Linked DNA regions of Homo sapiens: region 1 is linked to region 2. Evidence: promoter capture Hi-C in 16 types of primary human blood cells and fetal thymus (Javierre and others, 2016). All regions are on one chromosome and are shown on one strand. Each heading gives the region's core, a stretch centred on a gene start or on the middle of the fragment in contact. The rest is flanking DNA. Distances are from core to core; before and after follow the strand shown.

The links. The method cuts DNA at HindIII sites, captures the fragments that hold promoters and counts their contacts. A CHiCAGO score of 5 or more calls a contact.
Region 1: a contact is called between a fragment that was not itself captured here and the fragment with the promoter of PITPNM3 in region 2, in 4 of 17 cell types (M1 macrophages, M2 macrophages, M0 macrophages and 1 more). The highest score is 8.8, in M1 macrophages.

The regions. Positions count from the first base shown.
Region 1 is chr17:5,526,701-5,531,610 of GRCh38, forward strand. It overlaps NLRP1 (NLR family pyrin domain containing 1), which reads right to left. Exons shown (of 17, transcript NM_033004.4): 12 at 3,781-4,004. The region is part of intron 1 of LOC124903902 (a long non-coding RNA gene); the gene reads left to right. Among named protein-coding and RNA genes, the nearest start is that of MIS12, 43 kb to the left of the region's middle. The HindIII fragment of the contact is 1,603 bases long and covers 668-2,270 here.
Region 2 is chr17:6,554,959-6,559,950 of GRCh38, forward strand. It overlaps PITPNM3 (PITPNM family member 3), which reads right to left and starts at 1,597. Exons shown (of 20, transcript NM_031220.4): 1 at 1,427-1,597. The coding sequence starts at 1,448. RefSeq lists an enhancer at 1-508. The HindIII fragment of the contact is 11,474 bases long and covers 1-4,992 here.

The DNA of each region.
Region 1 (4,910 bases), core at 219-2,718, 1.0 Mb before region 2:
CAGGGCTTGGTGCTTGGTTTCATGTTTGGTGGTCTTGACATTCTTAATCATTTTTGAATGAAGAGCTCCGCGCTTTCATTTTGTGCTGGGCCCTATGACTGCTGGAGCTGGTCCTGCAGGAGGGTGAGAATGCCCATTGCCACGGTGATGAAGCTGAGAGGCTGAAAGCCTCAAGCTCTAGCTATAGTGGGAGAAAACTCACCATGGAAAGTTAATGACTCATCACCCGTTCAGCGACGACAGTGATGAAGCACCAGTGCCCAAGTCCTAAATCAGACCCTGTGTCAGGCAGTGAGGTCATCGTTTCCAGGGCAATGAACAGCTGCAGCCCAGACAGCAGGCAGCAAGCATTTCTGGAAGGGGCCCTGCCCGGCCCCAGGGATTGGTTTCCTGGCTGGTCACAGCTAGCTAAAAGCAGCCTCTGTGCATTTTGCCTCTTGTTCTGTGGCAGGGGTGTCCAATCTTTTGGCTTCCCTGGGTCACATTGGAAGAAGAAGAATTGTCTTGGGCCACACATGTAAAATATACTAACACTAATGATAGCTGGTGAGCTTTAAAAAATTCGCAAGAAAGTCTCATAATGTTTTAAGAAAGTTTACGAATTCACGTTGGGCTTCATCGAAAGCCATCCTGGGCCGCATGTGGCCCACAGGCCGCAGGTTGTACAAGCTTGTGTACGGAGTCCAAAGGGAGTAAATCCTATCTGGCCACAAGGTGAGGCTCAGAATTTGGTCTAGAGAAGGCTAGTGGGACATGGGCTTGGGCAGGACTGGGGAGGGGTAGGGGTGTAGCTCTTAGCCTGGGATAAACAGGACTTGGGATAGAATCCCAACTCTGGAAGAGGGTCTTCACCTCTCTCGGCTTCAGTTTCCTCACTGGTACACCAAGGGAAAACTGTAGTGCCTAATTTCCCGGTTCATTATGAAAAAAGAGATGATATTAATATATACGGAACTACCTTGCATGGTTCCAGGCACAGGATGCTCAGTTATTGTTCACAGTTCTTATTGGCCAAGTTCCAGTGCCACAAAGGACAGTGCCACAAGCACAGTGAATTCATTCCTATTCTGATTTGGCTGTCAGCCTGGCAGGCTTCAGCTAGATGCCTGTGCACTCGGAGGGTCACCCAATTCCTTGGACAAATCCCGTCTCCCAGGCCCACTTGATGCACGCAGGAGACTGAGCAGGGCATGGCCTGGGAGTCCTCACAATGGGGAGGGCCAGCTCATCCACCTCTGAGAGTGGGGAATGAGGGGGCGCTGGAGCAGGACCTGAAGGCAGACTTTGTCCCCTCGGGCCCTGGTGGTACATTCTGGCTCCAGACCTTAGCTGCATGAGGTTTCTCCTGGAATACCCTGGTTAGAGCAGGGAGTGGTGGTGCAGCCCTGAGCATCCCAGGTTGGGGCAAGCCAAGTTCTTTTGCTGCTGGTCATGGGCAGAGCTACGACAGAGCTGAGCCCACTGACTCTATTAGCCAGGCCCCTCTCTTCTTGATAGAGTACCTGGGGATCCCTGGCCACGGTCTCACTTGTGGAAGAGGCAGGCTGGTTGTGGTAGTGGCTGTGTTCATTACTCTATAGATTGCCCGGTGGGAACAAGTAACTTGTCCCAGCTTCTTGTTTCAGCCATCAGTTTCCTCTCCTCAATCTCTTCCTTTCTAAATGGACCTCTACAATTCCAGAGCTGTCTTGCACCTCTTCCCTCTATTCTGTTTTAGTCTGGGACCTTCCCTAGGGAATGCCCATATGACCCTGACTGTTCAACCAGGTGCCCCAGGGATCCTGAGGCCCCCGGGACTCTATTTCCCTGCCCCATGCTCTCCTCCTGGTGTGCAGCTTGAATTGTTTACTGAACTTTTGTGGCCTCAACAAACAAGACTTTCCTGGTTCTGGGTACTGAGCAGTTCCCTGCTTTTTATTTTTCTCATTTGATTTTTCTCTTTCTACTAGCTTCTAAATAATTTTTCTTATATATATGCCTTGATTACCTTAATATATGCATACTGTAAAGTTAATACCTTTATTTTGAGGTGATACTAAAAATACATTGAACTACTGGGATGATACTACAACATATCAACTAACAAATGAGAAATTAAAAATAAATTCTCATTTACCTCTATTCCTGGGAAATAAAGAAATTAAGACAAGAAAAAATATTAAAAACCCATTTAATATCTAGCTAAACTGTACAAATCATAAAAGTGCTTATAACTGATGTAAGCTATAACATAAATTGTTTATCAAATCATTTTATCAGCAATTAAATGAAGCTTCTATTGGAGTCATGATTTGACATGGGGACACATCAGATTCTTCTAACTTGCTCACTAAATTGACAGACATTGGCTGGGCACAGTGGCTCACACCTATAACCCTTTCTTTCTGGCTGATGTCAAGGCTTTCCCTCATACTTTCTTATTCTGTAGTTTCACATTAATGAGACTAATCTTGATTTTTTCTCTCCCTTCTCTCTCTCTTTCCTGCATTGCAGTTTTGGGGATTCTCATTCTGAGAAGTCTCATATGTCTCAATACTTCCAGAAATTTGTTTGCAATTGTCTTGTTGAATATTCTATTTTTTTCCCTTCTATCTTATCTTTCTGGAATTCCATTTAGATATATATTAGGACTTATCATGGTATCCTACAAGTTACTTGATTGTTTATTCTTTTTTTTTTTTTTTTGAGACAGAGTCTCGCTCTGTGGCCCAGGCTGGAGTGCAGTGGTGCGATCTTGGCTCACTGCAAGCTCCACCTCCTGGGTTCACGCCATTCTCCTGCCTCAGCCTTCCGAGTAGCTGGGACTACAGGCGCCTGCCGCCACGCCCGGCTAATTTTTGTATTTTTAGTAGAGACGGGGTTTCACTGTGTTAGCCAGGATGGTCGCAATCTCCTGACCTCGTGATCCGCCCTCCTCGGCCTCCCAAAGTCCTGGGATCACAGGCGTGAGCCACTGCGCCCGGCCTTGTTTTTTCATTTTTTTTAGTCAATTTAGTTTCCAACTTTGATTTGTCATTTTTAATGGTTCATTGCTTTTTGCTGATAGTTTTAAGGTTACTTTTTTTTTTTTGGTCATATTATACACACTTATTTTATGTTCTTTTTCTGATAATTTCAGCATCTGAAGGATTTAAGGGACTGATTCTGGTATCTGTCGTTTCTGCTGGCTCTTACTTCTGGTGCCTTGTTTCCCCTTTGTGAGATTTTTGACTGTTAGCTGATATTTCTTGGAACTCTGTGGGAAGTCTTTGGAGGTGACATAAAATCATACTTTGTGATTACTATCTTCTATGGGAAGCCCCTGTTTCATGGCTCCAGCTCTCAGATGGCGTCTGATGACACTGTTTCTTCTCCCTGCCTGTAGGAGTAGTGATGGCTTCCTATTGTTGCTAGTCCCTGTTGCCCCAACATTCTTCGTTAGTTCACTTAGCCTTACTTTGTAAATGGTCCTGTCTTTGAAAAGCTTCTTCAAAAATCTCAACTGAGCATATCATCTCTTTCCTGCTGGGACCTTGAGTGATACAGTCTATATAAATGACACTTAATAAAAACTTTCAAGTAAGTTTAGGCAGATATAATTATGAGGCTGGGAGATGTGTTTCAAAAAGATAAGTCCAGAGAAGAGTGGAATGCAGGAAAATCTTAGTCCCCATCTCCATAACCCCCCCTCGGCCCCTCTAAGGAAGCCACAACACCCTCTCCCAGGAGATTATCATTCTACACTCCCTTTCAGGCCCATAATTACCACCACCTTCCTCCCTATCCTTCCCTGTTGTTTACCTTGGAGAGCCACAAAGTGAGGGAGGTGCACAGCTTCCACAGCTCCAGGCTCAGCCTTGATGTCCAGCAGAGGCCCTGCCACCATCCAGCTGTGCTGTGGGTTGATCTCACCCAGGAACTGGTCCCACACACAGAATTCAATCTCAACGGTCACCGCTTCTCTCATCACAAAGCAGAGACCCGTGTTGGGCCAGCGGTAGGAGCCAGCTACAGGGAAGTGAACTCTGGGAAGAAGAGGGAGAGGCAGACACTTACTGCACGAACTCACTGAGCACCTGCTGGATGCCAGACCCCATGCAGGGGCTTGCGGATACGGTACAGTGGCTTCAAGCCCAGACTTCGGAATCAGATGGACTTGCATTTTAGTCCTGGCTCTTCTGCTCTTGACTGTGGATCCCTGAGCAAGTCATTTAACCTTCCTGTTTTTGGTTTCCTCATCTGTAAGTAGGAGTAATTATAGCTCCCATCTCCTAGTTACGAGAATAAGTGACTTAATGCATGCTCACAGCTTAGTACACGCCTGGGAGCTGTGAACTGTTTCTACTATGTTGATGATGGCAATGATGGTAATGATGAAATAACAAGTGTTCGTATATGTAAGGGGCCTATTTAGCAATAATTAATAACAATATATGTGCTAAGATTATCTGTCTTGTCTTGTCTGTCTATCTATCTATCTATCTAATCTATCTAATCTATCTATCTATCTATCTATCTATCTATCTATCTATCTATCTATCTATCTAATCTATGGAAATATGGTCTCACTCTGTTGCCCAGGCTGGAGCGCAGTGGCCCGATCTTGGTTCACTGCAGCCTCGAAATCCCTGGCTTAGGCAATTCTTCCACCTCAGCTCCCTGAGTAGCTAGGACTACAGGTACATGTCACCACGTCCAGCTAATTTTTTTGGTAATTTTTGTAGACACAAGGTTTTGCCATGTTGTCCAGGCTGGCCTTGAACTCCTGGACTCAAGTGATCCTCCTGCCTCGGTCTCTTAAAGTGCTGGGATTATAGGCATGAGCCACTATGCCTGGCCGTATGTGCTAATATTAATGCTAAACCCTTAGAATTGGAAACAACACTTTTATAGAGATCAGAAGTGATTTTCCCAAGGCTCCTCAGGTGGGT
Region 2 (4,992 bases), core at 347-2,846:
GCGTCCCAGTGCACACACACACTCACACACACACAGGGTAGGGCAGCAGATGGGACACACGCCCTGCCACAGGCCATTTTAAGGAGTCGGGGTGGGTGAGGACCCAGGCACGGTGGAGGAAAGAGGGAGGCAAGAAGCCTTTTTCAGCTTCCTTGGTGTCATCTCACAGTGCCTCCCTCAGGAGGGGAAAAGGGAGGGGAGTGAGAAGGCTGTTTAGCTGTGTTCCATACTGGCTGTGCCTCACACAACCGGCCCCACCCCGACAGGACTCCTTGGGGACAGAACGGGAGTGCATTCTCAGGCACCTAAATCTTACAGGCTCAGTGCCTGCACAGGGAGACGGGTCCGCAGCCCAGGGTCCCGGGCAGCTTTCGGGCTTGGGGGTGGATTGACACACAGCCCGATGGTATTCACACCCATTCCTTCACTGTCGCGCCCGGTCCTGGGGGACGGCATGGCACCAGCCAACGTCACGGGTTGGGTGTGAGTTCATGGTAGATTCTCACACGCCAGCCTCACAAGAGGCACTGCCGAGACCAGGCTTGCTGCCGCCTACTGTATGGCCGGCCCTGTGGGCACAGCTGTCCTCCACCCGCCTCCCAAGGCACCATCGGGCCCAGAATGTGCCCGATGAGTCACGGGCCTGGGTCTCCCCAGCATGGGCGCAGCAGGGGGGCTGAGTCCGCCTGAGCCCCGGTGCCCAGCTCAGGGTCTGGCACAGAGCAGATGCTAGTGAATGAACGTCGGGCTGGATGAATGAACGAATGACTAATGCCCGCTCCCTCAAACCACAGGCTACACCGTCTGAGCCTGGGGGAGGGCAGAGCCCACGGGACCCCAGAAGAGGCCTCCGCAGCTGAGGCTTTGCGTCCCAGGGTCGATGGGGGAGGGGGCGGGGCGGCCAGCAGCCGGCGCGGCACGGGGCTCCCCTCCTTCCCGAGAAGGAATCTGGGTCTCTGGACTGAGCTGGTGACGGGGGCTGGGGCGGGGGGTTGTGGCGTCCTGGATGGAGAGAGCTGCAGGAGCAGGGGGCGCGTCCCGGTTTGCGTTGGGGTGTGGGACGAAGCGGCGGCCGCGGGACATCCCCTTCGGTGGCGAAGCCCGGGTCTGCCCGGGGCCTCCGCGGGGTGCAGAGGGCTCCCAACGGCGGGACTGGCCCGGGGCGCCGCAGACCTGGCCCTTTCCGGCGGGGCCGTGGAGAAGGGGACGCGGTGTCCCCCGAGGTGACCGGGGGCGCAGGAAGGACGGGGGGCGCGCGGAGCCCCCTCTCCACGCGCGGGAGGTCCAGCCCCGCTACCGCCCCCTACGCCCTCCCGGGACCTCCGCCCACCTGCGCGAGGGGTTCACCTGGGCCGGCGGCCCCTCCTCTAGACGCGCGAGTCCCTCCCCCGGGCCCCGGCCCTGCCCTCCCCGCGCCCGCCCTCACCTGCACGGCCCGCCTTGGCCATGTCCCGGGCGGCGGGCTCCGGCGGCGCTACGCGCGCTCCTCGCGCTTCCCGGGCCCGGCCCCGACCGCCTCCGGCCCCGAACGGACTCCGAGCGCCGCGCCCGCGCCCCCGCCCCGCTCGCCTCGGCTGCCGCCACCGCAGCCGCCGCCGCCTCGCCGCTCCCTCCCGCTCCCTTAAAGGCGCCGAGCGGCGGCCGCGCCCCCCCCCCACCCCACCCCCCGCGCCGCCGGGGAGGGACTGACGAAGGAAGGCGCCCAACGCCGCCCCCGCGGGCCCGCACCCCCGCCCCGGGCCGTGGCCGCCGCGCTCCAGCCCGCTCCGCTCCGGCCCGCGCGGCCACCGCAGCGCGCGAGGGGCGGCAGCCCAGGGGCTCAGAGACGCGGAGACAGCCCGAGACACTGCGGGCCAGAGACGGGGCCCTGGACTGGGAGAGGGGCGCACAGACTATTAGACAGCGCTGGAGAGAGACGCTCCTAGGGCCAGAACGCCGAGGTGGAGGGAGAGAGAGAGAAATTCAGAGGAGACCAGAGACCCAGAGCCCGGCTCCGGCTCCGGGAGAGACGGACAGAGGGAGCGGAGAGAGGAAGGAGGACAGGGATCCAAGGGAGGCCCCCACGAAGTCAAGAGGAAAGTCGCTCTGGGATCAGAGACAAGAGAGGGACCCCCTCCATCAGCCCCCGCTCCAGGGGTTCTGGATCATTTATGGCGTCTGACCTAACCTCAAAAGAGAAAGGATTCCCGTGATTTTAACCCTCAAGGGATAAGTAAAACACTTGCACATCCACCTGGGGTTCTAGGCTGGAGCAGGCTTTGTGGACCCCAGCGGCCTGGTGGTGAGCAGTACCCGCCTTCCACTTCCTAAATCGGGATGCAGAGATTCTAGTGGACAGGCCTTGTGGTCCGGGGAGATATGGGTTATGACTTCTGTTTAGGGGCAGCAGGGATCCACAGTCCAGCCCCAAAAGAGAGCAGGAGATGGCCAATTGTATTTGGCGGTGCCTGAGAGGTAACAACCCTCCACTGAGAGGGTGCCCTGCCTCCCCCAGGAATTGGTAAGGCTGAAGCCCAGTTACCATCTGTAGAGCCAGGCACCCAACCCACCCTGTCCCACTCCACTTAACAGGGAAAAGGTCAACTGGAGAATTCCATCCATGGTCCAGGCTCCAGGGTCCTGCAAGCTCCTCTATGGAAACAGGGCACACATGGGGTTAGATGGGGGCTCTCAGTCCAGTGCCTTCTCTGGGGCTTTGACTCCATTCACAAGATTCCTGCTAAGCAGTCCTCCAGCTCCTGGTTGGTTACCTCCAAGGACAGGAAGCTCAGTATCTTAAGTGAGAGTTCTTCCTTTTATTAATTTTTTTTTTTTTTTTTTGGCTAGTGCTGGCCTTAAGAATGTTCTTACTCGTTTGAGCTGAAATCTACAACCCGCATGTCCCATCCATGAGTTCTGCTCTGCCTTCCGACACCTCACCCAACAAAACCAGGGCTTCCCAAGGCCTTCTACCCAAACTCCCTAGTATGGATTCACCCAGGGAGAACAACCATCCACGTTTGCCAGAGCTCACCTCCCAGGAAACCCATGAGTCCCAAGAGCTCTGGATCCCAGAGCCAGATGACAGCACCAACTCCAACAGATGTAGAATTTCAGAAGCTCTGGGCTCCTGAATCCAACGCTGTTCACCAGCACCTGCCATTGGTCACCAGCTGGGAGAGCAGGAATGGACCCTGCAGCCTTTCCCCACTATGAGAATGGGACTGGGGATGAGAATAACAAGGACTATTGATTGAACAGGCGGTATTTACCCTCATGTACTCTCTCAGCTACATTGCGTTATCCTCAGCATACACATAACGAAGTGGGGGCTAAGAAAGTTCGGTGCTTGTGGTCATGGAGGATCAATTTCAGGCCCCTGTGCTTTGTCTACTGGGCCTCACTGGCCTCACCCTTCCCTGAGGTGTTTCAGAGGCCTGATAGCCTGGACAATGTCCAGGCTTGGCCACCTGGTCTGTAGGTGTGAGTGGTCACGCAGGAGACAGAACGCTGGCTGCAGAAGAAGCAATGCGCCTGCCACAGAGGGGACACGCCTGGGCCTGAGCTCCTCCCCAGCCCTGGCTCACAGTAGCAGCAGTGACCAGAGGGCATCAAGGGCCCTCCTGCTTCTGGGCACAGCTTCACGTTGTGTTTGTGTGTGTGCCTGGGTATGTGTGCATGGGGTGTATGTGTGTGTGCTTGTGTGTGCTTAGGGATGCATGCATGGGTGTGTGTAGGCACACTCGTACACACAAACACAGGCAAACACCTGCTGACAGATGCTCCCTGGGTGGGCACCCAGACCCCTTCCCCTCCCACCACTTAGTCCTCACAAACCCTAAACTAGTCACCCAGAAGGGCCTGGGTGGAGCGGTTAAGGGGAGGTGCCAAGTTGATGGGAGTTTCAGAACTCATCTCTCCAGACCACTCCACACCCCATTTCTCAGATGGGAAGACAGTAAGCCAGATCTGTCCCCTGAAAACCACGACTCAGAGGCCCAGATCCATGGTTCCCCTCTTTAAACCTTCACCCCAGCCTCTGTCCGCCCCTAAGGCAGCCCCTGAAGGCACTGACTGTTACCAGCTGCCAAGGAAGTTCCAGCCCAGCCTTCTGACAGAGCAAACACATCAAAACTCAAGGCCATTAGATTAACTGGTGGGAGTTAACTTCCTGCGTCAGAAGAATTGTCCTTAATTGAAGAAAGGGATAACTAGCAATTTAGCCACGCTGACCTCTGCTGCCCGGAGGAAAGAGAGGCAGGAGCCAGCCAGGGCCTACGGGGCCTCCCAGTTACCAGAGTTACTGTGCCAGTAACTCTCCCAGTTACCAGAGTTACTGTGCCAGGAGACCAGATCAAATCCCTTCTCTGAGACCTGGCACCCAGGCCCTTTCCTCTGACCACAGCTTGTTCTGCTCCTGCCTTCACAGTGGCCAGCTGCTCCCAGGCCCAGGCAAGCATCTAGCCCAGAGAACCAGTAAAAATGAGCAGGGGCCCATCCTGTCAATGGCTGTGGAGGACGTGTGCAGAGATGTGGACAGGTTGGAGAGCTCCAGGTGGGTAAGGAGTGGGAGCTGGCTGCAAGACAACTCCTCGACATGGCAGACCCCAGGCCTGGCTATCCAGCCTGGACAGCTGGTGTGAGCACTTGGAAAGCTAAGTGACAGTTCCTAGGAGCCAACATGGCCCCCCTGAAAGCTAGTCATGCCAGGCAAAGCTCATTTCCTATTTGGACACGGTTATAACGACTAGTGGAGTTGGGCATCGCCTTGCCTTCTGGGCCTGGGTTGGGGCACGGCTGCTGCCCAGCTCTCTGACAGTAACTTTGTAAACAACAAAGGGAGTCAGGAGCAAGAAGATAGCCTGGTCAAGTGGCTTACCCCGGTCCACTCCCTGATGGGCTCCAGTGGAGGGAGCCTCCACCTCCCTCCAGGACTTGAGCCATGTCAAGCATCTCAGCGCAAGTGCTCACAACAGAGAATAAGCTGTGTAAGAAGGACGCTGCTCATGCAGA